Regions from separate parts of the Homo sapiens genome. Here all the other regions are linked to region 3. The links are contacts of gene promoters, found by promoter capture Hi-C in blood cells and fetal thymus (Javierre and others, 2016). All regions are on one chromosome and are shown on one strand. Each heading gives the region's core, a stretch centred on a gene start or on the middle of the fragment in contact. The rest is flanking DNA. Distances are from core to core; before and after follow the strand shown. Region 1 holds the start of CHEK1 (checkpoint kinase 1). Region 2 holds the start of THYN1 (thymocyte nuclear protein 1). Region 3 holds the start of ZBTB44 (zinc finger and BTB domain containing 44). Region 4 holds the start of PUS3 (pseudouridine synthase 3). Region 5 holds the start of RPUSD4 (RNA pseudouridine synthase D4).

The links. Contacts are between HindIII fragments. The CHiCAGO score rates a contact against its expected background, and 5 or more counts as called.
Region 1: the fragment with the promoter of CHEK1 here is called in contact with the fragment with the promoter of ZBTB44 in region 3 in 1 of 17 cell types (fetal thymus); the score reaches 14.4 in fetal thymus.
Region 2: the fragment with the promoter of THYN1 here is called in contact with the fragment with the promoter of ZBTB44 in region 3 in 1 of 17 cell types (erythroblasts); the score reaches 6.8 in erythroblasts.
Region 4: a contact is called between the fragment with the promoter of PUS3 here and the fragment with the promoter of ZBTB44 in region 3, in 7 of 17 cell types (fetal thymus, non-activated CD4 T cells, naive CD8 T cells and 4 more). The highest score is 12.2, in fetal thymus.
Region 5: a contact is called between the fragment with the promoter of RPUSD4 here and the fragment with the promoter of ZBTB44 in region 3, in 11 of 17 cell types (neutrophils, total CD4 T cells, activated CD4 T cells and 8 more). The highest score is 16.5, in neutrophils.

Annotation. Positions count from the first base shown.
Region 1 is chr11:125,621,626-125,627,100 of GRCh38, reverse strand. CHEK1 (checkpoint kinase 1) reads right to left here and starts at 1,938. Exons shown (of 13, transcript NM_001114122.3): 1 at 1,089-1,938; 2 at 268-352. The coding sequence starts at 332. LOC118567325 (a long non-coding RNA gene) reads left to right here and starts at 1,207. Exons shown (of 1, transcript NR_170378.1): 1 at 1,207-1,964. STT3A (STT3 oligosaccharyltransferase complex catalytic subunit A) reads right to left here. Exons shown (of 18, transcript NM_152713.5): 18 at 4,010-5,475. RefSeq lists enhancers at 293-342, 1-446, 1,263-1,772. The HindIII fragment of the contact is 3,445 bases long and covers 255-3,699 here.
Region 2 is chr11:134,248,982-134,254,892 of GRCh38, reverse strand. It overlaps THYN1 (thymocyte nuclear protein 1), which reads left to right and starts at 1,541. Exons shown (of 7, transcript NM_014174.3): 1 at 1,541-2,053; 2 at 3,585-3,763; 3 at 4,550-4,618; 4 at 4,973-5,065; 5 at 5,631-5,726. The coding sequence starts at 2,011. ACAD8 (acyl-CoA dehydrogenase family member 8) reads right to left here and starts at 1,325. Exons shown (of 11, transcript NM_014384.3): 1 at 1,184-1,325. The coding sequence starts at 1,292. RefSeq lists an enhancer at 1,411-1,780. The HindIII fragment of the contact is 5,608 bases long and covers 1-3,232 here.
Region 3 is chr11:130,310,493-130,316,272 of GRCh38, reverse strand. It overlaps ZBTB44 (zinc finger and BTB domain containing 44), which reads left to right and starts at 1,356. Exons shown (of 8, transcript NM_001301098.2): 1 at 1,356-1,898. ZBTB44-DT (ZBTB44 divergent transcript) reads right to left here and starts at 1,280. Exons shown (of 7, transcript NR_148980.1): 1 at 1,158-1,280. RefSeq lists silencers at 263-322, 1,233-2,062 and enhancers at 623-722, 893-992, 2,153-2,202. The HindIII fragment of the contact is 9,181 bases long and covers 1-5,140 here.
Region 4 is chr11:125,900,136-125,905,366 of GRCh38, reverse strand. It overlaps PUS3 (pseudouridine synthase 3), which reads left to right and starts at 2,161. Exons shown (of 4, transcript NM_031307.4): 1 at 2,161-2,197. HYLS1 (HYLS1 centriolar and ciliogenesis associated) reads right to left here. Exons shown (of 3, transcript NM_001134793.2): 3 at 4,721-5,231. The coding sequence ends at 5,099. It overlaps DDX25 (DEAD-box helicase 25), which reads right to left and starts at 859. Exons shown (of 12, transcript NM_013264.5): 1 at 787-859; 2 at 89-155. The coding sequence starts at 849. The HindIII fragment of the contact is 3,679 bases long and covers 1,449-5,127 here.
Region 5 is chr11:126,210,067-126,215,682 of GRCh38, reverse strand. RPUSD4 (RNA pseudouridine synthase D4) reads left to right here and starts at 4,033. Exons shown (of 7, transcript NM_032795.3): 1 at 4,033-4,233; 2 at 4,628-4,793. The coding sequence starts at 4,045. FAM118B (family with sequence similarity 118 member B) reads right to left here and starts at 3,901. Exons shown (of 9, transcript NM_024556.4): 1 at 3,853-3,901. It also overlaps the pseudogene RNU4-86P. RefSeq lists an enhancer at 4,019-4,248. The HindIII fragment of the contact is 5,382 bases long and covers 3,095-5,616 here.

The DNA.
Region 1 (5,475 bases), core at 689-3,188, 4.7 Mb after region 3:
CATTTGCTCATTAACCGCAATGCTTAAACCCTGAGAAGCAATTTGTGGGCATGGAAACAATAACTTCGTGTCCCTTCCAGCTCTCTACAAAGAAAACTTTTTTTTTTAAAGGGAAGGAAAAAATTTTTAATCCTAGCAAAAGGCTGTGTAACTTCAGTTGCCAAAACCCTTGGATCTCAAACATCTACTTTCTAAATCACCAGAGTGTGAGACTCCAAAACAATGAATATGCACTCAGAAAACGAAGGCAAGCTTAAAAGAACTCACTCTCCATAGGCACCTTCTCCCAGGGTTTGCACCAAGTCCCAGTCTTCCACAAAGGGCACTGCCATGACTCCACCGAGCACCTCGGCTGTAAAAGGCAGGAATCCAGAAAAGATGTAGAGTGTAAGATCACCAGTGAAGCCACTGAGCCCCGCCTCTCCCCAGGATTGCCCACGAAAATTAACAGCTCTTGCCTTCCCCTTCTATCTCATCCACATTTATCCAAGTCTTTCAACCACGAACAACTATTCTAAACCTGACCATTTTGTCGTGTAAATCACAATCGCCACTCCCAAGCACACCGAAGGTTGAAATTCTGCCCTCCTCAGGCCCCAGAGGAAATTAATTGTTGTTATGAAGAGGTGGGAGACAAATGCTTTCCGGCGAACGACTGGGGAAGGAGGAGGGAGAGGTGGGGGTCTGGGGAAGAGAGGAAGAGGATATAGGGAGCGGTATGGGGCAGAAAACGCCTGCGGCAGCGCCTCCTCCCAATTGCTCAATTCCAATTCCCATCCCCATCCACAGCCCCACCCGTCCCAAAGGCCGGGGCGGGGCCAAACTGCCCCCAGAGGCGAAAGGAAGGGCTGGGACTCTTCCTTGGGGTTCTTAGCTAGCAGCGGGTTAGTCCCTCCTGCCCCCGCCCCCACAACGGGAACCTCCTGGTACCATTCCTCCACCCTCCGAAACCGCCCCTCCGCAGGAGTCTCTCCAATCCCCTGCGCTAGTCAATGCTAACTTTCTCCCACCATGCCCTCCCTCACTAATCTAGACCCCGAACTCCTTCTTTAGAAACCTTCCCTACTCTACCGGCCGCCCTTCCTCACCGGACTGTCCTTTGCCCACCACTGCAGGAATCCAAATGCAGCGCTTTTCCCGCCAAAACTTGAGGGCGTCACGCTGCCGCAAACTCGCGCACCCGCGCCGTAAAGCAAGACAGCGCGCGTTCCCGTGTCCTGCCCCTCTGAATGTCGGCGGCTCCAAAAGGGTGACGTGGAGATGTTGCCGCTCCCGCCCAGGGCTGCTTTGCAGTCGGGGAGAGATCCTGGCTGAAGAGATTTAAGGACGGCGGACCGCATCGGCGCGAATTGAGCTCTGGGCCCAAATATGAAGTGGCATCCGGTGTGAGGCTCGACTGGGCGGTGCTCGAGCGCTGCTGGGGGAAGCCCAGGCCTCCAAGCCTCAGGGGCGCGCGACCGACCGCGCTGCGCTTCCAGGCGGGGCTGCGGGCTTCGCTCCTGGCCGCTCTGGGCCTGAAAGGCTGCACCGCCACCTGCGTGAGGCCACCGGACAGGACTGTGAGGATCACAGTCGGTGAAGCAGAGTGCTTTGTAAACCTCAGAGTGCGGTACTCGTGGTGCTGGAGCCGAGAAACCAGCAGCAGCTGCTGAGAGCCGACTGTGAAGAAATGGGAGGAACTCCGTGTTGGGAGCGAGAGGCTTCGAAAGAACTGGCCACGCAGTCAAGTGTGTGTGGCGGGGCAAGTTTCCCGGAGAAAGCGAGCAGTTTATGTTGGAGCTTGAAGTCAGGATAACCAGTTTTGCCTTTTTTCTGTGAACCAGCTCCAAAACAATGCTTTACTTCAGCCCGGTCTTTTTGCAGGAAGACCATCTGCTTAGCTTAGTTCTACAAACTTTTTCATTTTTAATGTGCAAAGAACAGGCGGGGAGAGCCAAAATAAATCTTACAACGCAAATTTAAAAGCTGCGTACGTCATTTAAGTGGAAAAGTAAATTCTGAGGAAAGAGACTCAAGAACAAAATAGGAAAAATGGAAATAAGTATTCTCTGACAGTAAACTAGACTGGAACTCAGGGATAGGCAGGATCATCTCCATTACATTCTCCAGCACTGGCCGGGCGCAGTGGCTCCTGCCTGTAATTCCAGCACTTTGGGAAGGCGAGGCAGGAGAATGGCTTGAGGCCAGGAGTTCAGGACCAGCCTGGGGAACATAGGGAGACCCCATCTCTACAAATAAAAAAATTTAGGAATTAGTCGGGCTTGGTGGTGTGTCCCTGTAGCCCTAGCTACTTGGGAGGCCTAAGCAGAACAATCGTTTGAGTCCAGGAGTTAGAGGTTAGTGAGCACTACTGCACTCCAGCCTGGGCAACAGCATGATTCCGTAGGAAAAAAACATATTTTTTTATATGTATATATTTTATATATATACATATATATTTTCTTAGTCCTTAAGACTGGGCCACATACAAACACTAAGCATAACTGGCTATTATGATAATAGTAAAGTGAAACAAGTATAAAATGTTACTCAAGGCCGGGGCCTGGTGGCTCACACGTGTAATCCCAACACTTTGGGAAGCTGAGGCGTATGGATCACCTGAGGTCAGCAGTTCAAGACCAGCCTGGCCAACATGGTGAAACCCCCGTCTCTACTAAAAATACAAAAATTAGCCGGGCACGATGGCGAGTGCCTGTAATCCCAGCTACCCAGGAGGCAGAGGCTGCAGTGAGCAGAGATTGTGCCACTGCACTCCAGCCTGGGCAACAGAGCAAGACTCCGTCTCAAAAACAAACAACCAACAACAAAAACACACATTTCTTTTAAAGAAGCAAAGTCAGGAACAAAAATCAAGGAAAAAACTCTTAAAATGCTTATGTGTATAGTTTTGAATCATGACATCACAGATTAGGCTTCATGTAATCTTTTTACAGTTTGTTGTTTTTGGAGACAGGGTGTGTTGCTCTGTCACCCAGGCTGGAGTGCAATTGGGCAGTCTTAGCTCACTGCAGCCTGGAACTCCTGAGCTCAAGTGATCCTCCTACCTCAGCATCCCAAGTCACTGGGATTACAGAAGCGAGCCACAGGGCCTGGTATAAAAATAAAAGCAAGTTTTTATATCATTTATCCCATTTTCTCTTGTTTCCTCACTGTGTGCTGAAAACAAAGAATACGAAGAGGAAGACCTGCAAATTTCCTGTGTGTCTGATGGAGTCTTTTTAGCCTGAAAAAAAAAAAAAAAAAGATATACAGACTCCAGCAGAATACCAGTTAAAGACAGAATACATAGAAATAGCCTCTATTCTCTTCTGAAAGCCCACTAAAATATTTTAATAGTAAAGGATACCAATATTTAAAAGAACCCATAAGAACAGAGTATGAGACACATTTTGGAAAGCAGAAAGCCTTTAGATGAAAGGTAATGAAGATGAATCCCAAAGCTAGCAATGGAAAGCAGAATTAACATCACAGAACTCTGAAAAAGCTCAAGTTGAACTGGTGACACCAGGTAACTGAAGGTGGAGGTAAAAATGGGGCTAAAAGGGGTAGGTTTAAAGGCTACATAAAAAACAAATAGATCCCCGTATCCCTTCCCTTTCTATGTAACCAAGGAACTGTCCCTCCCCAAAGCTGGTACGAGATTTAAGAGGGTAAATGCACAGTATGTGAACTGGAGACCATTAGGCACAGTTAAAAGCTTGGGCACCTTACTGAAAACGGAGGGATTAAGTTTAAGTTTTATCCACTGAAGGTTGAGCCTGTTACAACTTCTTTCCCTACTCTACTCCCAGAAAGCTGACTGCCTGGCTTACATCCTTGAGTAAGAGAATATGCAAGCCTTCTCAAGGGAATCTTACCTATGCAAAAGATAAAAATCTAAAAATCAGTATCATGGATTTCCCAATGTAACAGCCCAGCCAGATCACAGTAGATTGAAACCCACATTATTAATCCCCATCTACACCCCCTACAAACAGACCTTTCAATCAGCTTTTTTGGGTCCCACTCTTTTTTTTTTTTTTTTTTTTTTTTGAGACAGTCTTGCTCTGTCTCCCAGGTTGGAGTGCAGTGGCATGATGTCTGCTCACTGCAACCTCCACCTCCTGGGCAATTCTCATGCCTCAGCCTCCCCAGTAGCTGAGATTACAGGGTGTGTACCCCACACCCAGCTAATTTTTGTATTTTTAGTAGAGACAGAGTTTTCCCACGTTGCCAGGCCGGTCTCAAACTCCTGGCCTCAAGTGATCTGCCTGCCTCGGCCTCCCAAAGTGCTGGGATTACAGGCATGATCCACTGCGCCCTGCCTAGGGTCCCACTCTTAAAGAGGAGCAGACTAGCAAGAATTTGAGAAAGTCTTTAATATGAAAGACATCAAAACTATGCTTAGTGTTCATTAGCCATGTTGCCCAGGCTGGTCTTGAACTCCTGGGCTCAAGTGATCCGCATGCTTCAGCCTCCCAAAGTGCTGGGATTACAGGCATGAGCCACTGCACCTGGCCTAGATTTGAGTTTTTTATGCTAAGTACACAATAACAGTGAAAATGAAGAGTACACTTTTTAAAAAGATAGCTTCATGTAGCCTAGAAAGTAACAAAATTAAGATCCTCAGAGCAACAACTGTAGCGACAAGTTAAAAGTTATCCTATGTATAGTATAAAGGAAGATCATTAATAATTTCTAACTGGTATTAATCATATTGATAAATAATTCAGAATAACCTCTTCCACTAAAGATTCTTTATAGAAATCAAGTAATGTACTTACATATAGTAAATCAAATCTTGAGGCTAAATCTCACCCACAGTTGAAGAACATGGTATATAAATTGGTTTGGAAGGCTAAGTGCCCTGGCTATACAAATATACAACAGCATATCCCTTAGGAGCACCACTATGACTAATCTAAAAGTTATGCAATTCCTCCTGTTCCCTTAAATGGATAACACTAAACAGTTAGCTTTTATTAACGCCTTAGGGTTTATATACATCAGTGATATATTCATAGGCTCTTTGTCCTGATATTAAATGTCCTCAAGGACCACTGTGCTTCCCAGTTAAATTGTTTTTGTTTAGACAAGATTTCACTGTCGCCCAGACTGGAGTACAGTGGCACAATCACAGTTCACTGTAGCCTCAACCTCCCAGGCCCAAGTGATCCTCCAATCTCATCTTCCCGAGTAGCTGGGACTACAGGTGTACACCACCATACCTGGCTAATTTTTATTTTTCATAGAAACAATCTCCTTATGTTGCCCAGGCTTAAAACTTTTTAAGAAGTTTCTCCTCTTTTCTTGCAGGCAGGCTGGCACTGCTCTCTAGGGACCTGTTACTGGCAATGCTTCCCCTTTTAATTTGTATCTTATTTGGAAAGAGCTTCAAAATTAGGTAGTTGAACTTGGTAACAATATACAACAGCAACACATAGGCTAAGACTAAGGGAAAAAGAAGCTCACCTTTGAACAACCACAAGAGTTTTG
Region 2 (5,911 bases), core at 292-2,791, 3.9 Mb before region 3:
GAACTTTGCCAGTTACTAGCAGAGTTCAAGATGCCAATACATAGTTACTAGCAGAGCTCAAGATGCCAATACATATACACTAAAAAGGTAAAGCTAAATAGAAAAACACTCCAAATGAAATGGGAAAAGCCTTTGACTGCAGAGCCACTCAAGTGTAAGCAAGATGCAAACAATAACAAAACCCACCTCTAAATAATTCCTTATCTGCTTCGGTATCAACCAGGGTAATCTGGGTTATCAAATTCTAAGCGCTAGGCCAGGGCAGCACCTCTTGAATGAGTTTTAGGACATTCAGAAGAAAACAGTATTCTATGCCTTACTGTACTTTATAGATCTGATATCTAAGGGACTTATTCTGTTGTAAAGAAAACTGCCATTTATTTAAAATAAATTTAAAAATATTTCAGAAGAAAAAAGTGTTTATAAACATTCTTGGCAGAGAAGTCACAAACTGGCCGGGTCTCCACCACTCCTCGCTACATTCAAATTACTGTTCAGAGCCTAAAGACACTCAAGTTTGTCAGCTCTGGTAGAGTTTCCCACTGGCAATAATAATTATTTTTCCTGCATGAGTTTCAACACTAAAAGTGTCTTATAGCCAGAGGTGTTAAGATACCAAATCTTTGTGTGTGAGCAAATCTTGTATGACCTGGAGTTCTTGTGCAGTTGTCACCATCAGCACCCAGCCAGCTTCTTATATTCTCACTGCTTTTATGACCTACTGTTATGATTAAAAACCAACCAACCCAACAACAACCAAGCCCCAAGTTTCTTCACTTCTCTAAGCATCCGAGGGTGACCGGCCGCAGGAGGACCCGGGCCGGAGGGGAACCTGCGGGGGGATGACCGGCCGGAGGGGAACCTGCGGGGGGTGACCGGCCGGAGGAGGACCGGGGCGGGGGTGACCGGCCGGAGGAGGACCGGGGCGGGGGTGACCGGCCGGAGGAGGACCCGGGCAGGGGTGACGGGCCAGATGGGGACCCGGATGGTGGTGACCGACCGGAGGGGGCAGCCAGGCCGGGGGTGACCGGCCGGAGTAGGGAGCCAGGCCGGGGGGGTGACTGGCCGGAAGGGGAGCTGACGCCGGGGTGACTGGATGGAACGGGGAGACTGCAGCCCCTCGCGGACATATGTCCGCCGGGGTTCTGGACACCTGTCCTACTGCCCGCCAGGAGATCCTTACGGTCGATGCAGGAGGTCAAGCTCCGGTGGCCGGTCTGGACGAGGACCCGGAGACCGCCGGGCAGGCAGCCGAGGCGCGCCCCGAAACGCCGGCAGCCGCTCCACAGCATAGCCGCCGCAGCTCCGCGTTCAGCTAAGAGTCTGAACGCCTTCGACCTCCGTTGCGCTCGCACTGGCGGGACCTGCGACCCGGCAACGCCTGTCCCACTGCACCCTGGGGGTTGTAGTCCTCCCACGAGCCCTAACAACCCAGGTGCCAGGCGGGCTCCCAAGGGGACAGGACTACAATTCCCAGAAGTCCTCGGGGCCTCGGCGCCGCAGAGATGCACCGCCCACCAAGCGCCGCGGGGGTCGCGCTGCACAGCCTGCGGCGCAGCGGAGGCGGACCGCAGTCGAGTCTGCAGAGTGTTGGGTCTGTAGCCAGCAAATTACTTCATCATCTAGATTATCCATTCAGTTGATCCTAATTAGCAAGGATAACAAGGTAACACAAGGCTTACTTATATTCACCCAACAAAAGTGTCTCTGTGGAGCCACTTCCCAGTGAACTACATACTGAGATAGGGGTTCCTGGATGAGAAGGACCAAGGACAGAACCGAGAAGAGTTTAGGGGCAGGTTATGCGAGATGGAAATGGCGCAGATAACGGAGGGAAGGATTTGAGGGCTCAAACGTAGGCGTCTGTGTTTCGCAAAAGTTGGAGACGTTCTAGGCTGCCTCTCGTTGCCTCCATCTCGCTCTGCGCGGGTTTTGGAGGACATTAGCATTCTTTCTTGTATCTCCGTTGATTCCAGAATCGTCCGCACTAAAGTCCCCTGCAGCGTGACCATGTCGAGACCCCGGAAGAGGCTGGCTGGGACTTCTGGTTCAGGTGAGCTGCCCCTAGGCTGCACAAAGGCAGCCCAAGAAAAAACTTTTCTCGAAGAGCCTGTTTAGTACTCATTTTTCACTCCCTGCTTTTTGAGAACCCTTTGTGATATTTTTACTCCATTATCCTTAATCACTCTCCATCTTCTTTACTTGTCTCACCAAGCTCCTACCTACAGTTCCTTTTTCTTGTTTATTCAGGCAATGGTTGTTGTGCACAAAGACTCTTTGAGATACCAGGTGGCGTGCTAAAGAATATAAAGCGCCTGCTTGCGGGTGAACTGCAAACAGATGTGATGGGGTTCAGGAAAATGGATTGTTAAGTTTATGGAGGGAGGAATCACGGGGAAGGCCTCGAGAAGGATGTGGAATTTGAGCCCAGCCTTGAAGAATGGGAGACTTTCCACGGGCAAAGTTTAGTACTAAGAAAACGTGATGTCGTTTTTATAATCACAAAGATGGATGGCATTCTAAGTGGATGGAGGAGGAGGAACATTGGAAGGTACAGAAAGTACCTCTTTTGGGAATGACAGGGGTTCCAGATATACTACAGCACATTGCAGTTATTTATCAATATGTGGTGTTTGCAGTGGGCCTGTTAACTCCTAAGGGGCCATTAGGAAACTAGGTTAGGAAGGTATGCTGGGTTCAGAGCATTAGACAGCCATAAATGGTATTTAATGACAATTGATGTAGGGACTTTGACTAAATTCAGAGGCAGTATAGTCATTAAGTAGCTTCAGATAGACCTCAGTGACAGGTGCTGACCTCATATCTTGATTCCACCATTACTGGATGTGTGATCTGGAGCATGCTTCCCAGATGAAGAGTAGAACATCTCACAGGTTATGTAGATTAACCGAGTTAGGGTTAGGGTAACACATAGACCTTGGGCCCTGTCATATAGTAATTTAACAACTTAGCTACTGAATGCCTACTGTGTTCCAGGCACATTCTGATTGTCTTGGGATGAAATCGAATCATCACCATTTTTCTACAATGTCCTGAATGAACTGTTTCTTTCAACTTTTATTGGCACCTTCAAGGAGCAGAAAGGAGATGGGCCAGGAGCCACAGTGAGCAAGAAGGAAAGACGTATGAGATGAGAATAATAATGCTTTTATTATGCACTTATTGTAATGCCAGGCATTGTCTAGGCCCTTTGTATTACCTCATTTAAGCTTCAAAATAGTTGCAAGTAGGTGCTCAGTTTCCTCTTTCCTATGCAAAGGCATAGAAGAGAGAGTGAGGAAAGGAAAACATGTATTGACTACTGTCCGGACCTTTAATCCTGAACAACCCTGTAAGGTGTTCTTACCCTATTGAATAGATAATCCAGAAGATACCCTGTAAGGTAGGTATTCTTGTCTAATTTTTATAGATAAGGAAAGCTTCTTAACAGTAAGATTAAGTTCCTACAGCTGGTAATGGATCCATGATTTGAATCCAGGTCTGACTCCAAAGCTAAGCTTTTTCCATTATGAAACATTGCCTTTAACAAGCATGATCTTTTCTTTTTGCTTCTCCTATTGCAGACAAGGGACTATCAGGAAAACGCACCAAAACTGAGAACTCAGGTGAGGCATTAGCTAAAGTGGAGGACTCCAACCCTCAGAAGACTTCAGCCACTAAAAACTGTTTGAAGAATCTAAGCAGCCACTGGCTGATGAAGTCAGAGCCAGAGAGCCGCCTAGAGAAAGGTGTAGATGTGAAGGTGAGACCCTTGACCTGTCTCCAGTCCCTTCATGGTGTTTTTTAAATGAGAAGTGAATATGGGACACCATAGGGTTCCATCCCCAGCTTCTTATCTTTGAAGGGAAGGAAAAAGGTAAAAATGAATAAAATCGGCAGGGTTTATTATCATCAGCTGGTTTGTGAACCTGTGTATCTAGGGCAGGGGTTGGCTAACCTTTGCCACAAAGGGCCAGATAGTAAATTTTGTAGGCTTGTGCGTGTTACAGTCTCTGTTGCAACCCTGCCCTTGTAGCAAGAGAGTGGCCACAGATAATAAGTAAACAGCTGTGGCTGTGTTCAAGTTCAACTTTATTCACAAAATCCAGCATGGGGTTAGATTTGTCCTGAAGGCTATAGTCTGCCAACCTCAATCTTAGGTTACCTTTCTCTGAACACCTGCCATGCTCCTAGGTGTCTCCCTGCCAACAGTTGATGTATATTTCAGGGAATTTAATATAGCCTGGGAAAAATATAAGCAGAACTATTATAAATATAAAGTAAAATGCAAGTAACTAGCAGATTACTTTATCACCTAGATTATTCATTCAGCTAATCCTCATAATTAGCAAGGATAACAAGGTAACACAAGGCTTACTTACATTCACCCAGCAAAAGTGTCTCTGTGGAGCCACTTCCCGGTGAACTACATACTTCCTCTATAGCCAGTGGCCCCTCTCATTTTAGGGGAAGGAACTGTCTGCTTCCATATGTGCTTACTAACTGGCCAAGGATTGTTTAATGATTGAATTTATTTCCTCTTGCCTAGTTCAGCATTGAGGATCTCAAAGCACAGCCCAAACAGACAACATGCTGGGATGGTGTTCGTAACTACCAGGTAAGAGGGTAAGGAGGAGGTCGCCTGAGACCCAGGTGGGATGAATGCCTGCCTCCTCCTCATGACGTACTCAGTAGCAGAACCTCTTGGCCAAGGTTGCTTTTTCTCAGAAGCAAACCTGATAATGTATTAAAAAATGCCTTAAGTACTCTGCATGAAATTTTCAATTGGCCTGTGTTCTGGCCAATGTCCTGGTAAAAGTCTGGGTGTCCTGGCAAAGGGGAAGGACTTTCTAATGAATTGAGGAGTTGCAGACAAGAATCACCCATCTATTAAAAGCAGACTTGATTTCTGCTAAAAGCTAGTACTTTCCAGCTGGTGGGAGGATAGTTACTCTTTCTTCTCCCGGGACAGGCTCGGAACTTCCTTAGAGCCATGAAGCTGGGAGAAGAAGCCTTCTTCTACCATAGCAACTGCAAAGAGCCAGGCATCGCAGGACTCATGAAGGTTAGTTGGGCAGGTTTTGGTGTGAATCCCTTTTCCTCCAGGGAGACTAACTTAAGTAGATATAAAGGGATATACCTTAATTAGGCAACAAAAAAGTACACTCCCCCCCACCCCATCCCCCTTTTACAGGAATAGGGAAAAACTGCCCTGGCCCCTTCCTATCTGATAACTCAAAGCAGGCCTTCATTCAGGTCCGACTAGCACAGACTTCACTCCACCTCTAAGTCTTGATCTCACTCGAAAACAGGCCTGATGATAGCTCCTCCAAGCTTATCAGGATAAAATTATTAACTGTGCAGAGGGGAAAAAAACAGTGGTACCAGTAATAACCTTTGCCATTTGTTTTTAGAGCATGTTTTTAAGACTTTTGTAAAAACAGAGTTGATTTCCTAGTCTATATATTAGACTATATATTGTTTCCAAATATCTGAGCCCCCATTGGCTGTACAGCAAGGCAGATGGGTTAAGAATGTGCAGGGAAGAAATGAAAGTTGGATATGGATTAAAAGATTGGCTGTGGAGCTGACTGCAGGCAGATGATTCAAAGCTTTTGTTTTGGTTTCAGATCGTGAAAGAGGCTTACCCAGACCACACACAGTTTGAGAAAAACAATCCCCATTATGACCCATCTAGCAAAGAGGACAACCCTAAGTGGTCCATGGTAAAGACTATGCTTTCTATTTCATGACAGGGGAAGGATGAACCAGGGGAAGAAGACGGTTGGGGTGACTGTAGGTCAAGGTACACGGCCCAGCACTTACTCAGATGAGGTGATACTGAGATAGGAGCTTCCTGTGGGCGGTTAAAAATACAGTGGGCACAGTCAGCCTAGACACGTCTTTCTGT
Region 3 (5,780 bases), core at 107-2,606:
TACAGTTGCCGTAAGGATTAGATAACATTATACATGCTTGAAAACTTGTTGGAAACTGCGAAGGACTATAAAAACAGAAGTTGTTTTTATTGCCTTTATTCCTAAAGAAGATTGCAAGTGTCAGGGTGTTCAGGTGCTTGGCTGCTTGTCTCTCAGAGTGAATTAATGTGAGATGTTGCCAAGTGTTTCAAAAGGAAAATCCACTCTACTTCAGCGGGACGTCCACCCACCTTGCACAAAACCCTCTGGAAAGAAGTCTTTCGGTTTGCAAACTGGAGGCGTGGGAAAACAGAAAGCGCCCAAGGAGCACCTGCCCGCACCCCGCCCGCCCCCAGGCACCTGGGGCGCTGCCGCCTGCAGTCCCGGGAACCCCTATGACCTCCGGGGGCGGTGTGGAGAGCGCTCGCCCGCCTGGCCAGGGGAAGCCAAGACTTAGGGCCCTAGGAGTTAACTAGGTTGATTGATTTTGCAGTTGACCAAGAACTTCAAAACCCCCCGGGCGGTACCGGTTACTTCGGGGAGGCCCGCACACTTCCTCCGGGAAGGCCAGGAAGTAAGTGATGGTGCAGTAAAAATGACAGATTCACGGTTGTGGAAGAAGTAGGGTATATTTTTGGAGCAGCTCTAGCTGTCCCTGTGTTGGAAGAACGAGAGGGACCTGGGAGTCCGTTTCTCCACTCATCTCAAGAACCGCACGTCCTGCCAGGTCACCGAGGCAAGTGCTAGAACGGAAGAGAGCAAGCACTGCGAGGAGGCCCGAGGAGCCACGCAATCCAGACACCCGCCGCATGTCGCAGTCCGCCCAGGACGGGGGCGCGGGCTCACCTGTCTGCGGGGCGGCCCTTGGCAGGCCTGTTTCCATGGGTGAACAATGGGCACCTTACCAACTAACCTCCCTCGCCGAAGAGGGGCTGAAGTGTTTCTATTTCGACCTCCCTACAAAAACTACCCGAGAAAATAGGAGTTATGTTTTTAGTTCGAAGAAAAAAATAATGCTATAAATGTGACTCCTGCGGAGAAATGCTTCTCAGGTGTGAGAGGGGAACTGGGTAAGAGGACGGCTTAGAGGAAGGACAAATGGGACAGGGCTTATGGGGCATGTGAATGTAAATCGGCACATGTGCGCACATATGCAAAAATACAGTGTCAAGACTCACGGCCTTTCTGGGTCACGCAGGCTCCACCGTCTAAGGAGACGGAGTCACCAACAGTACAAGTCCCGACGGCCAAGAGGGCCCATTTTCTGCGCTTGCGCAATCATCACGTTTCCTTCCCCGCCCCGAGCCCCGCCCCCGAGCGCGCTCCGCCCCGCCCCCTTCTCCTCCCCTTCCCCAGCCAGGCCGCCGGCGCAGAGCATTGTGGGACACAAACAAAGTGCCCCCAAACAGGCTGGAGTGAGCGGAGCGGCAACGGCGGCGGCGCCGGCCGCACGCGCGCGGCGGCGGCTCCCTCCCAACCTCCCCCTCCCCTCCCCTCAGTCCCCTTCCCCTTCCCCACCCCGCCCCGCTGGGAACACGCGAGCCGTCGCCGCGCTCCCCAAACAACCGCCTGCCCTCGGCCAACCGTCCCCAACGGTCGCCAGCGCGCGGCTCCCGGGCCCCCTCGCTCCTCCCCTCTGGCCCCTCCGAGCGCTGGGGGTGCTTCCCTCCCCGCCTCCTCGCACTCCCACTCGCGGGCACGCCGGTGGCTGTGCCGCCATGCCCCACCACAGGCTGCTCACGGGCCTAGGCGCGGCGGCCCGAGATAGGGGCCCCTGAGCCTCCCGGGGGAGGAGAGAGGCAGCGAGCCGCGCTCCGCCCCCTCCCCCCGGGCCGCCGCCGCCGCCGCCTCGCCGCCCCAGCCTGGCGGGAGAAGGAGGAGGAGCAGCAGGCCTCCGGGCCCGGCGCCGCCGCCCGCAGGTAACGGGGAGGGGAGGGCGGGCTCCGGTCGCGCGGGGGACGGCCCCTGCACGCTGCCCGTGGCTGACACCGCGTGGCCCCCACCTGGCGCCGAAGGGAGCGGAGAGCCGGGTCTGTCAGCCTAGTCCGCGCCGGGAGACACCCCACGGGATCCCCTCGGTGGCATTTAATCCTTCTGGGAGGAGACCGGCCTTGGGCCCCGCGGTCCCGGAGCAGTTACCCCGACCTTCCAGGGAGCTGCCCGTCCTTTGCACGCCCATTTGCCCAACACCCTAACCCGGAGCGGCCGGAGTGTTGCCACCTCTCACCTGGTCGAACCCGGGAGGCTCAGACCTGTTTTTTTTCCTCCTTTCCCCTTCTGCTTTTTCTCTGGTACAGAAAGAAAAAGATGGCACTTCTTTAAAAAAATATATATATATATATATACACACACACAAACACACACACACATACACACACACACACACCTCTTTTCCTTTCCTTCCTGAGGATCACTCTGCATCTAGTCGTTTTATTGCTGGCCTAATCAGAAAAAGGGGTTACCTCGAGAAATGACAGGTACGTTAGAACTGATTAAAAGGAAATTGCGTCCATGTGAGTTCTATGAATCCAAGCAGAATTTACAATAAAACCCCGTAATTGTGTGCTTTTTTTTGGAACTTACAAAAATGAAGACAAAAACTTAATTTCTTTTTCAGCGTGTAAGTAGATAATCTCTTGAAGTCAGGAAGAAATTCTCCATAACTTCCACTTATTTTCTTAATGCTTTATTTGGAGATCGGCTGATACCGGAAGCAAGCTGCACGATTTTGATTTCCTTTTCTCTAGGTGTTCAGTTGGAATTCTTGGGTTTAAAAAATACTGTATAAATCTTCATTTCCCCCATTACTTCACTTGGACTGTCAGTGGATTAATAATAATTTTACCTAATGTAGTTTCCCCTTATCATAGAATGTGAATATAATGAACGTAGTCCTTTAGTTTTGTATTTTAGGATTATTAGTAATGTACTGATTAATTATGAAAACCAGATTATTCATTTTGTGCAGTACTGCTTGGCATTTTTGCATTTGTAATTATTTAATTCTCAGAACAACCTAATGATGCAGATATTATTACTTGAATTTTATAGAAGTGACAAACTTAGTGATACGAAGAATTACAACTTGCCTTAGGGCACACAACTAGTAAGATAGTTTAGATTTCAACCCAAATATAATTCCAGTATAGATGTACTTTCGTGTACTTTCTACCGTACTTCTCAATAGAAGTACAATTTTATTAACTTTGTTATGAAAAATTTTAGTCGTATAGAGGTTCGTTCTATACAATTGTGATCGGTTATTCATGCAATGAATAAAAATGCTAATCAATGCAATGAATAACCAACTCAGTGATTAGCATTTTTGCCATATTGTTTCCTGTCTTTCTCTGTATGTGTGTAATTATTTGAAAGTAAGCTGCAAACACTGTAATCCTCAAATATTTCGGCATGTGTTTCCTAAAAATAGGGACATTCTCCTACTAACCCCAGTATCATTATTAATGCCTATCAAAATTAACAACTCCATCTTCAAAATTCCTCAGTTGTTCCAAAGTGTCTTTGAGGGTTCTGCCCCCAGTTGTAGTCAGTCAAGATTCATGCATTGATTGCATTTGGTGATTAAGTCTTTAGTCATTTTGTAAAATGAAGAGTATCCATCCCCTCTTCTTTTTGCAGGGGAAATTAAATAGGATGAATATTCCCTCCCTTCTTTTTTTCTGACACGTAATTGACCAAACCAGTTGTCTTGTAAAATATACCCACATTCTGGATTTGTGCCCTCCTAATGTCATTTCGTTTATTCCTCTTTCTCCCTGAATTTCCTATTAACTGGAAGTTAGGTGTAAAGGAAGGCTTAATTAGCTTAAAGTAAAACTTCCTTTGGCAAGAATATTTAATAGGTGATGCTGTGTACCTCCTGTTGCATAATATAGGAGGCACACAATGTCAGATTCCCACACTATTAATGATGCTAAATGTAACCATTTGATTAAAGTGCTGACTACTGATCTGTTGTAAAGGTGTGGTTTGCCAGTTTGTGATTAATATGTAATCTTGGGGTAAAACTTGGACACTAAGCAAATACCCAGTTTCTGACAATCTTTTGCTTAGTGGTTTTTAGCACCCATGATGACTTTTGCTTAAATCAGTTATTGGAGGTTCTCTGTAAGGAAGAGATTTCCTTCATTAAGTGCAGGTAAACTATTGTTCTTCCCCAAAATGCAAATTAAATGTTAAATTTAATCTCTTTACTTTTCAATATTCATAGTAAAGAGCTGGAGAAATAGCCACCCCCAATGATGTTTTTTGGGGCAGGGGTGAATGATACCACTTCAGACTCTCATGGGTTTTAATTTATTCCTTGTTTTATAACCAGTTACAGTCGTCTTTCTTTTTAATGACCAAATTGTCCCAGATTTGGTCAGTAGGAACCATTTCAAGCTGACTATTGTGTGTCTTGACACCCCTGCTCCCCATTAATCTTGGAGTGCTTTCTGACACGAGTTACTCCAGGGTTTATCTTATACTTTCTTTGCTCACCTCTGGAAAGAGCTGTTTATCCAGGGAGTCTTGGTTCTTTTTAATGAGAAATCGTATATAGAAACCAAGTTCTGGATGTTTGGCATATTCGTTGCTGCTGCAGTATCATTGCTTCTAGGTGCTTTGAGAGGAGAGAACTAAGAAAAAGGTTTTTGCTTGTTTAATCATGAGTTCAGAGTGATATTCCAATTCCTATTTAACAAGCAGACTTTTTCTTCCTTGACTCTATATTTGTCTCTTGTCTTAAATGAAAATCTTGGTTTTTAATACAGTTAATAAACTGGCCAAGCACAGTGGCTCATGCCTGTAATCCCAGGACGTTGAAAGGCCGAGGTGGAAGGATTGCTTGAGCCCAGGAGTTCAAGGCCAGCCTGGGCAACATGATGAGACCCCATCTCTATAAAAAATAAAAAAATTAGCCAGGCGTGGTGGTGTGTGCCTGTGTTCCCAGCTGCTCAGGAGGCTGAAGCAGGTGGATCACTTGAGCCCAGGAGGTTGAGGCTGCAGTGAGCCATGTTCATACCCCACTGCACTTCAGCCTGGATGACAGAGTGAGACCCTGTCTCCAAAAAAAATAATAAACTTATTTGCTTTCTCCCACTGTATACATAAAATCATTTTAAAATTATAGTGCTGGTATTGCTAATACCAATAAGCTTCATGTAGTTTAAGATTTCTTTGCATTTATTTTCGTATTTAGACTATATTGCATGAAGAATGTATAATGAGTACTGTGTTCAAAAGTCACTTGAAATACTTTTCTCTGGTTATGCTACCAATTTGATATGGTTCATAGGTTTCAGTTTTTACTTAGGATTTTATTTTTGAATATGTAAAGTATGTACATAGTGTAGAAGTCAAAATAATGTTTTAAAACTATACTTGGATTAGCCGGGCATGGTGGCACATGCCTGTAGTCTCAGCTACTTGGGAAGCTGAGGCAGGAGAATTGCTTGAACCGGGGAGGTTGCAGTGAGCCAAGATTGCGCCATTGCACTGCAGCCTGGGTGACAAAGCGGGACTCCATCTCAAAAGCAAAACAAAACAAAAAAAAACTATATTTGGATAAACCTCATTAAAATTAGTTTTTAAAGATGAAGTATTGTTTACCTTTACCATACTCCTTTTAGTATCTACTACATTCTCACATCAAGCTCAGAAGAATTAGCAATAGACAAATTATGTTATGTGAAGCCACATAGAAGTACTTTTAAATTTTAAAATTAGATTCTGCTTCCTCTGGCAAAGAGAACTAAGACTAGTTTTTAGAAGTTAGCAGAGAAGTGGATTCCATGCTT
Region 4 (5,231 bases), core at 912-3,411, 4.4 Mb after region 3:
CGGTGTTTCACTTGGCAGGGACGTGATGAAAGCAAAACAATACTTTTTAATCATTGAGGTCGCTCTGCTTTGCCCTAACAGCACTCACCTATGTTTCGGACTGCAGTACTCTTAATACCCCAAAGGTTCTTCCGGGGTTGGCTGAGGTTTGAAAACTATTGAGAGACACAAATTTCAACCAATATTAGGATGCAAGCCCTCAAGCAGCCCAGTGCTTCCCTACCACAGGGGCTGGGAGGGATTCAGGGAAGGACACCCGGGTATTGCTTCCTTTGCAATATTAGGTAGCAGCAGATTCCTTTCAAGGTTGGGTTTCCTGTATGAGTTACCCTAAAATTGGAGATTTTCTGTATTCCCTGTACATGCAGTTTCTCTTTCCTAGGCCTCTAGTTTAGAGTTGGGCAGTACTTGGGGCTCACGGCACCAACAAGGGGAGGGTGGCTAGGAAAGTGCGCTGGCAAATGGATGGAAGCGAGGTGAGGCTTAATGGGCAAATGGGCAGAGTAGAAAACTCGGGGTCTAGCTGGGACTACCAGCTGCGTTCCCACCCTGGATTTCCAGGGGTCGTCATTTTTGCCCTTTCTAACCAAAGGTCTTGCCTCTCGTGGGGGTGGGGACGGGGTCTCCCTCTGTGGCCCTCTTCCAAACCCTTCCCGCATCTCCCCTCCAGCATCTGACGCCCCACTTCGAACGCTCGCGGGCTCTCCCTCCCCTCCCAGCCGATCTCCCTCTGCGAGTGGGAGCTCCACCCCCGCGGCTGTGGCCCCCCGGCTCGGTGGCGGTTACGTGGCTGTTCAGCCGCTCGCTCTCCGCCGCCCCTGCGTCGCCTCCCCACAGTAACGACGCCATGGCTGCGATTGCTGCTCCCGCCCCCAGCACGTGCTTCCACCACCGGCGCGAGGCGGTGCTGGCCCCATCCGCTGGCCAATGGGCTTCCTTAGGGGGCAGGCGTCCGCGTCCGCGCCCGCGACCACCGCGGTGCGGCGCGCAGGCGCTGGAAGGCTGGGTGGCGCGCGGAAGGGGCGGAGGGCAGAGAGCGGGGCGGGGGGCAGAGAGCGGGGCGGAGGGCAGAGAGCGGGGCGGAGGGCAGAGAGCGGGGCGAAAGGGCGCGGACCGGAGGGCAGAGGGGGCAGCTTCCGCAGAGTGGAGAGCGCCCCCCGCGCCGCCCCGCGGCCCGCCGCTCACACAGCCCTCCAGGCGGGAGCCCCCCGGACTCCCCGCCGCGCTTTACGCCCCGTGTCGGTTTCCCTGGAAATTTCCGCCTCCACATCACAAGATGTCAGAAAGGTTAGCGAATTGGTTAGCAAAGTGGAGACAAAATCTGATGAATTTGATATGACGAATGACCTCGAATGCCACAGTTGCGGAAAGGAAGCAGAACTGTTCAAGCTCTAACTGCTGTTCCTGCCCTAGATACCTGTGATGTTCCACATAGGCTTTTTAAAGCTTTTATTCTGAAATGTGGTCTCTTGTTAAAAACATTACCTTTCGGTATAACCTCTACGTCCTACATGCGTTTGCATAATCCGGTATAGATCCCTGGATCCCTGGTACTAATGATTTAATGACCGCTCAATTTGGACGAAAGAACCAAATTCCACCTCCCCCCCGCCCCCCAGTTTTCTAATTGTAATTTTGAGATTTTGATCAGCATTTCTGGAATTGGGGGCAAAAATACAAAAACCCACACGAAACTGCAGTCATGATCTCTCCGTGGTGCTGAAGCAACGCTCCCCGCTCTGTTCGGTCACTCTCAGGGCACCTAGTCGTTTGTTTTGAGATTATCATATTCATTTCAGCTTTTAATTTGAATTCTAATAGTAAATGTTTTTGTCTCTCAATGGTAACTTTCTTCTCATTTAACTAGGTATAAAATCGAGCCAAGATCTTCAATCTTTTAGTTTTCGTATAAGGATAGCAGAATTTGAAAAATTACCTTTTTTCTATTATTTTAGCGTAGCACTACAATTCCTCCTTTTATTGCTGTCCCGCCACAGGCCCAGATTCTGCCCTGTGGGCGGAGAAACGGTAGCTGGACTAGAAAACCTCAGGTAGATTCTAGCACCAAGCTCGGTTCTCAGAACTACATTTCCCACAAACTTGGACTACACCTCCCATGAGGGCTCGGGCGCCTGCGCAGAAGACGCACAGTGACAGCTTCCTTTCTCGGAAACGCGGCGCGGCCGGCTGCCGGAAAGTAAGTGTGGGATTTTTGGAGTGGGTTACTTTCTGGGTTCCACAGGGGAAGGGACAAATGGACACACTGCTGAACGGTTGTCTGTTGTCTTCTTTTTGCCCTCTTTCACATACTTTGGTCTTTTCAGGAAAGCATTGCCGTATGGAAATGAGACCTCGCTTAAGACCATGTATTTTTCTTTTGTGCCTGGTACTTTCTGGAGCTCTCGGTGGAAACTCGCCGCAGTAGGGTCGTCTTTAATTCCGTTGTGACGGGAGCTTCAGTGGTACTTGTACTGTGGAGTACAAAAGTGCTCTGCTGCCCCACTTAGAATTGGGTGCTCATAAAACAGTAGAAGTTGAGAACCCAGGAGTATGTGGGAGGCTGTGGCAGCAATTTTCAAATTATTTTGGGGATTGCCTTACATACAGACCACGATTGCTTTCTAGTGATCATAGTGCGTGTCTGCTAATCCTTTGGACAGTACTCCCTCTTCTTCCCTTTGGATTAATATAAAGTTTATCAAGAGGAATGCTATTTATGTGTTAACCCACTGGTTCCTGAGATTAGGACTTTTTTTTTTTTTTTTTTAAGACTGTCGCCCAGGCTGAGTGAAGTGGCGTGATCACTGCTCACTGCAGCCTCTACCTCCTGGGCTCAAGCGATCCTTCCACCTCAGCCTCCAACTAGCTGGGACTGCAGGCGTGCGCCATCTTGGCAGCCTAGTTTTTAATTTTTTAATTAACACACGGTCTCGCTGTGTTGCCCAGGTTGGTCTCGAACTCCTGACTTCGAGCGACCCCCCCTCCCCCCCGCCACCACCCCGTCTTGGCCTCTCAAAATGTTGGGATGACAGGCGTGAGCCACGGCGCCTGGCCCAATGTATGGAACATCTGGTGATGGCCGTTTTAGTTTGTAATTGGTGCTTAGGGGACACACGAATTCCCTCTCTGTGGTTACTTCGCAGCCCTGGCCAGGGTGTTACTTTAAACGTCTGCTTGGGAACTCCTGCACTTCACCCTGAATTAGGGTAAGGTGTGCTGGAAAAAGCACTGTAGTGTACCAAGTCCTGTTTTTGCCACAAATCTGCCTTATGACCAACTAGACTCACTCCCTGGCCTAGTTCTTTAGTTAGCACGGGAGTTGAACTTTGGAGACTTTGGTAATGTTGGACTTTGAGATCCAAATAATCACTGGAGTGTTTTGCATGTTAAAATCACCATGTAATTTTTGACCTCATAAAAAGTCGAGGTATAAATACAAATTACCTTTAATCCCACTACTCGTTAGGTTTTGATCTTTCCCTGTGTGTACTGAGATCATCCTGTATAGTTTATGATACATTCATGTCACTTAATTTCACCTTCCCATATTACTTTCCCAAGATTCCCAATGACTATTTAATATTCTAATGTCTTTAAAGACATTTACTATTCCACTGTTGGTGGACAGTTTGCAGTTTCTACTTTTTTGCGGTGAGTATATCCTACATGTACCTGAGTCATTGATTACTTCTTTTCCAGACAAATGCCTAACAAATAGAACTGGGTGAATGTGTGAATTATGTGGCTTTAAATGTTACAGGGAAAATGATTTTCGCAGATAGTAACGGTCAAGGTCATTCACCTTTATGTTAGAACTTTTTCTCTGTGAACAAGCAAACTGTACTATCATTCTTCTGGCCTCTGGTGTTAAAACTGACAACTTTCAGATTTTAGATGGTCCCCGTTGGGTCAGAAATATCAAGAACAGATAAATTACAATTTAAGGTGAGCAGAATTCCTATTTTGATCTGCACCCAAACAGGCTAGGTTCATATTGGTATTTATGTTTGCATCTGATTCCAGATGTTACTAGTTTGAATTTCTACTGGAGTAGGAATACCCTTCCAAATGATGCATAATTCCTACAAAAATCTCAGGGGCAAATTATAAAAAGAATGGTATTCCAGAAATAACAGCTGGCAGGCAAAATATTAATGAAATAATTCTGAAATAAAACAAGTTTGAATCCTGTATGTTATATGGTACTGTTTTGGGGCATTTGTTAGAAAGTATTTTAAAGCTACTTGGATTTGTTGTACACCTTTAGTAATGAGGCTATCCATGTTGTTAACCTCTCCCATCCTTTAGGACTATGTAAAAGGCAGGTTTTTGTTCCTTCTTTTTTTTTTTTTTTTTTTGAGACGGAGTCTCGCTGTCGCCCAGGCTGGAGTGCAGTGGCGCAATCTCGGCTCACTGCAGGCCCCGCCCCCTGGGGTTCACGCCATTCTCCTGCCTCAGCCTCCCGAGTAGCTGGGACTACAGGCGCCCGCCACCTCGCCCGGCTAATTTTTTGTATTTTTAGTAGAGACGGGGTTTCGCCGTGTTAGCCAGGATGGTCTCGATCTCCTGACCTCGTGATCCGCCCGCCTCAGCCTCCCAAAGTGCTGGGATTACAGGCGTGAGCCACCGCGCCCGGCTTGTTCCTTCTTTTGAGCTCTCATCATAGCCCAGGTTCAAGATCATCTTAGGCAAGTATTTCATGAAATAATGTTCAAGTTCATGAATTTCCAAAATTCTTTAATTGGTAAGTGTAATGCCCAGCAACTTAAAAAACACACACTGAAGCACAGCAACTCATATTGATAGGTAAAAAAAGTTACAGGACACAAAGGGCCCTTACTAATTTGACAAAATAGAAAGACCAGGTCTGTTGTTCTTTCTCTGATATGATTTATCTTGCAATTGCTGGATTTGAGTGGCAATTTGGAAGTATCATCTGATACCAATGTGATATATAGCTAGGAAAGACCAATGATAGGTGAAGTCCTTACCATAAAATGTTTCGAAGAGCTTCTCAAGACAGTTGTTTCTATTTAAAAGGGAAGATATAAAGAGCTAGGTTATCTCAAACAATCCTGTGAAAGAAGTTTAAAAAGATTTAAGAAGGAGAAAGAGGGAAGGGAAGCTTCCTGGGTATGACACCATTTGCAAGGTCACAACGAACACCCCAACGGAGTGCAGACCTTTTCTTCTCTGTTGGTACTAGATAATTGTTTGGGACATATATATGC
Region 5 (5,616 bases), core at 2,784-5,283, 4.1 Mb after region 3:
TACTTTCACCCAGGCTGGAATGCAGTGGCGCGATCTTGGCTCACTGCAAGCTCTGCCTCCTGGGTTCACGCCACTCTCCTGCCTCAGCCTCCCGAGTAGCTGGGACTACAGGTGCCTGCCACCACGCCCAGCTAATTTTTGTATTTTTAGTAGAGACAGGGTTTCACCGTGTTAGCCAGGATGCTCTCCATCTCCTGATCTCGTGATCCGCCCACCTCGGCCTCCCAAAGTGCTAGGGTTACAGGCGTAAGCCACCGCGCCTGGCCAGAAATCTTAAAAGTATATTCCAACACCACTCAATGAAGTAACCTCCAAACATAAACATTAGCTCAGTGGCAAAAAGTTAAATTCTGGGGACAAGAGCAGAATCCAGTTTCTTAGTATCAATGCTAAATGTATTCAAGATAAATCTGAAATAAATCCCACTAATTCGGGCTGAAAGAGAAGTATTTCAGTATCAGTGGAAAATCTTCATAGACTAGAAACAGAGTTGCAAAAATCTTTCAAATGACAAAAAACTGAAGCCCAAATTATTTGTTCAAGTACGCAGCGGCTGAACTGGAACTAGTCCCACATCTCCTGGCTCCCAATGACTGTACTTTCCAGGGCACCTCCCAAGAGTTCCTGCTAATTGCCTCCTTTAATCTCTCTAAAACCATAAAACAATGTCCAAGTACTTCCTGCTCTTCAAGGAAATGGAATCGCTGGTTAATCTGCAACTAGCAAATCACAGTTTGAGGAGGCGTAACTTAACTTTATACCACTAATTAACCTTAAATTTGTGATAAACGCAAGTTCCTTTATTAGTTAGTCCTTGTTTGTTTATATTTGCGAAATACTAATGCAGCCTTTTTGTTCCTGAATAGACTAGGAAATATCTTTAAAAAGAAACTATCAAGTTCTTCTTTATATGGTTACTTTAGGGGCACATATTATGATATATCAAAATCAATGTAAATAAGTCATGTTTGAACAGAGCCGTAGTCTGCAAGAATGAAGAAATCACTAATAGAATTTCCTTCCTTGTTCTAAGAAAACATTTAGACAAGAGGAGTTCCCAACAAATGGACTGTGACATTGGCGCAGAAGTGGAAAAGTGAACTGCCTAAAAAAGGACCAGCTGAATGAGGAACAGGGAGGAGGCAATATAGAGGTAAAAAAAAAAAAACAAAAAAAAAACAAAAAAAAAAAACAGAAACAAAAGAGTTTTTTGCAGTGGCAGTATTGCAGCCAATGAGGTTTATCTGAGGGGTGATTATTGCTCTTTGAAAATTGGAAAAAAAAAAAAAAAAAAGACATGACATTTGCATAAATTCTTTTTTTTTTTTTTGAGATGGAGTCTTGCTGTGTTGCCCAGACTGGAGTGCAGTGATGCGATCTCGGCTCACTGCAAGCTCCGCCTCCCGGGTTCACGCCATTCTCCCGCCTCAGCCTCCCGAGTAGCTGGGATTACAGGCGCCTGCCACCGCGCCTGGCTAATTTTTTTTTTGTATTTTTAGTAGAGACGGGGGTTTCACCATGTTAGCCAGGATGGTCTCGATCTCCTGACCTCGTGATCTGCCCGCCTCAGCCTCCCAAAGTGCTGGGATTACAGGCGTGGGCCACCGCGCCCGGCCACATAAATTCTTTATACTGAGAACAACTCTACTTTAAATCACCAAGTGCCTAGACTCACCGGAGAAACATTAAGGATGTCATAACTTATGTACCCATACTGGCTAAAGCTGCACTGTCATACCAAACAAAAACTTTGAATTCTTTAAATTTCTCTACAAAGTTTCAACAAGACAAACCTAAAAGTTCCTTCTCCAGAAAAAAGGGACCAATATTTTTATTCTTAAGTCACTAAGTGTGTGCTTTGAGTTAACCTGAAACCCTAGAGCATAAGCTCTGTGTCACTAGCAATGACATTTGAGTTGGTTCTTCATTTTGTTTCCCGCCACAGAAGGCCAACTCTGCAAGAACAGGTGTAGTTTCTTGAATGCCATAAGGTTAGGGTAGAAACAGCCTCTCCCATCCCCGACACAAAACCATAAAAGTCCTGTACCCAAAACAAGTTTTTAATTAATGTAATGATATGAATTTAAGTCCCGATGTCAAAACTTCAGGGTCCTTGGAAAATTGAGCTTCAAGTATCTAAGTAATATGTGATGTTCAAGTGAAATTAGAACCTAGGTCTGGAGCATGGAAGGTAATAATTCTTTTAGGGTGGAATTTCTCAACTTTTATAGACCTCTGTCTTACTGGTAAATTTGCAGGGGGTGGGTGGGGAACAGGAGAAACAGATGTTTCCCAATCTCCCTTGGAAATCTTTGCATTTGTATCTGGATCTGCATTTACACCTGCCTTATAAGAGAAACGTACACAAGCCTTGCTTCTTTCCCACTTTACAAATACATCTTCCTCTACCTTCATTCTTCAGGCCAAACATTGACAGAAATAAGACAATTCAAAATGTTCAGACACACCTAGCATACATTTATGATGCACTTCAGCCATCTAACAGATATCGAGTTTACTATGTGCCAGGTGAGTGGATTAAAAAAAAAAATTCTTCCAGGGACTCACAGATCAACAGCAGCTGCCAAGAGTACGCCTTGACCTGCATAACTCAATTAATTCAAACTCAAAGGAGTTACAGTGTAGGGGGAAAAGACCAGACCTCATCACTGACCACCTAGATTGTAACTAGTTTTCCTACTATCAAACCCTTTCCTTCCCCACTATCAAACCCTTTCCTTCCCCATCTGTCCTGCATTCAACTGCCAGATTCATTTCCAGAATTCCACTTTCAAGGAGTCTCTCTGCCCTACTCGAAAAGCTTCAAAGACTCCTCACTACGTATCACCTCTAGTTCAAACTCTTCAACTTGAGTCTTCTATGAGTAGCTCCACCTGATCAACTTTGTTTCTTGTTGGTACGGCTCCCTTCTGCCAAACCCTTTAGGAGGTGTAGAACCCAAATCTAATTCAACTACCTATTCTCTAATAACTCCTCAGGCAGCCTTCATTCCAAGCAGTCTTAAAAAATTGTTCCTTCTATCGTCACAGATCCATTAGTTTTCAGGACATTCTTTCTGAACTCAGCATAAGCTTTCCTCTTAACAAATGGCAGGTATATCCCAAGTTATTTTTAACACTACCATCCCAAACAGATGTTTATCTTCCCAGCCACCCCTGAGTGAAATCAGAGGGAGTCGCCTGCAGTTCGGGCAAGGGAATCCCAACATCGCATCTCGTGAGAGGAGGTATGGTGTGGTTGCAAACTATGGAGAGGAAAAATAAAGGAAACAGGAAAAGTGAAGGTCTGTGCTCCGTTCTTTCAGCTTTTTCTTTAGGAGGAGTAGGGAAGGTAGGGAGGAGACCCCCAAGAAATGAATTCTTGAGGAAGGGCAGAAAAAACACTCACAGTGCTTCCTAAGTAGGAAATAGGTGCTGGGGGCCCTGGATAAGGGAAGGGGCCGTCATCCTTAGGAGAAGGGTACAGGTTACAACGCGAAACAAAGAGGCTGGGAGTTGGAAGATGAAGGGTGGAGAGACTACAGAGATCCGGGCATCCGATCAAGAGGGTCCCCGACGCGTCCCGCAGGGGACTGGCGGATCACCGGAGATTCAGTGGCTAAGAGGGACGGCGTCGGTGCCTAGGAGGGCTCTGGGGCGAGCGTTTATGGGACATCGCTCCTAAGGGGGCGCGGGGGCGGGGAGGAGTTTTTGAGTGGGATCGTGTACCAAAAGGAGAAACGTTTCTCAGACCAGTGCTCTTCTTGAACGGAAATCCCGGGGACGCAGAAAACGTTAAACCGTTGAGGCACCGGCATTTCCCAGCCCCAGCCCGGCTTCCCTACACACTCACCGAGTCTCCTCCAAACGCCACTGCTCCAGCTGCAGCTACCGGCCGGCGCAGCCGCACTGAGCGCGCACCGTCCCCACGTGACTCGCCCAGGCCCCACCCCGCACCACGTGACCTGCAGGGCCCACCCACTCCCGCCTCATTGTAGTCGCCCTTCTCCACGTGGTCTTGGCTCGCCCCGCCCTTCCTTGTAAGATGGCGGCGCCCAGGTGGAGCGCGTCGGGCCCCTGGATCCGGGGAAACGGCCAAGGTTGCGGGAGTCTCTTCACTCTCGTCTCAAAGCCATTTTGTGCCGCTGCCGCTGCCTCTACGGCCATAAATGCCCAGAGATTAGCGGAGAAGCTCCGAGCCCAGAAACGGGAACAAGACACAAAGAAGGAGCCGGTGAGTCCAAAGGGACCAGAACTCCCTAGAGGCAGTGCGCTCATTGGTTTCCCAGACGGGGAGTAGGTAGGAGGGTCCTCTGAGTGAAAGCGTGTGAGTCAATAGCCCGGACGCAAGGTGGGAGAATGGGGAGAAGGCGGAGGGGAGGGGTCAGTAAGGGTACGGTGTTTTCCCGTGAGCTGGATCTTTGGCTACTGTCAGGCTCAGTCCTAACCACTGCGTCGGTACGCAGGTTAGACAGATGGGTATCTCTGCTCTCAAATTAGTCGAAGGCGGCGCGGGTCTGATGCAAAGATAGTCATTCCCTACTCAGATTCTCACCCAGACCTTTATGGAAGGTCTTCTCCACGGCTTCCGCACCAGGCATTCCCCACGGCTCCTTCTTTCTCCCTAGGTGTCCACAAACGCTGTTCAGCGGAGAGTGCAAGAAATAGTGCGGTTCACACGGCAGCTGCAGCGAGTCCACCCCAACGTGCTTGCTAAGGCACTGACCCGAGGAATTCTCCACCAGGACAAGAACCTTGTGGTCATCAATAAGCCCTACGGTCTCCCTGTGCATGGTAAGGACCACGCGGGAAAGGTGGAGGAACCTGCAGCTGCTTTCTGCTACAACCGAGGAAAACTGAGACGTTACTTGTGGTGCACTCTAAAGCCTTGCATTCAAATTAATTAAACTTTTGTAAACTACCGTCCAATATAAGGAACCACCGAGAACACAGAAATAAATAAATAAGACAGTCCTCCCTTTCTAAACATCTGACAGTAAGCAATTCGTAGAATACGCTGTGTGCAGACTACAGGGATCGCTGTAGAGATATACAAAGGCTGTGTGGTTCTAGACTAAAGGTTATCTTCCATCAGAACTGGGAATGAGAAAATGATACATAAGAAAAAAGGGGGTGTGTGTGTGTGTGTGTGTGTGTGTGTGTATGTATGTTGGAGTATATGTAACATACAACCCCAGAGTGACTGGAATTTAGTGGACCTTCAAATGTCTTTCAACAGATGTTGCATGTAGTTGTCAGGGACAGCTGAAGTGAATCAGGAAAGATTGATTTAAAAAATGCATTTGTGAAAGAGGGAAAAGGCCCATTTTAGCTAGAAGAAGGTAATGCTTTTTGGGGAGATACGGAGATAGTTGTTCACAAAGACAAGGAATTAAATCACATCACCAAGTGTTTGTATAATTTTTTTCTCTCTTTATTTTCGCAACAGTTTTTTGCCTTTCCATTCCCCAATGAAGTTGTTTTCCAGATATTTACATTTTATAACGAGAAAGCAAAGTTGGAAAGAGAAGTAATGTGTCCAAGGTCAAAAAAATGGCTAGTAAGAAGAGTAGAGTAGAACCCCAGGAATGTCTAACCCCGAAGTCTATCCTCCTAA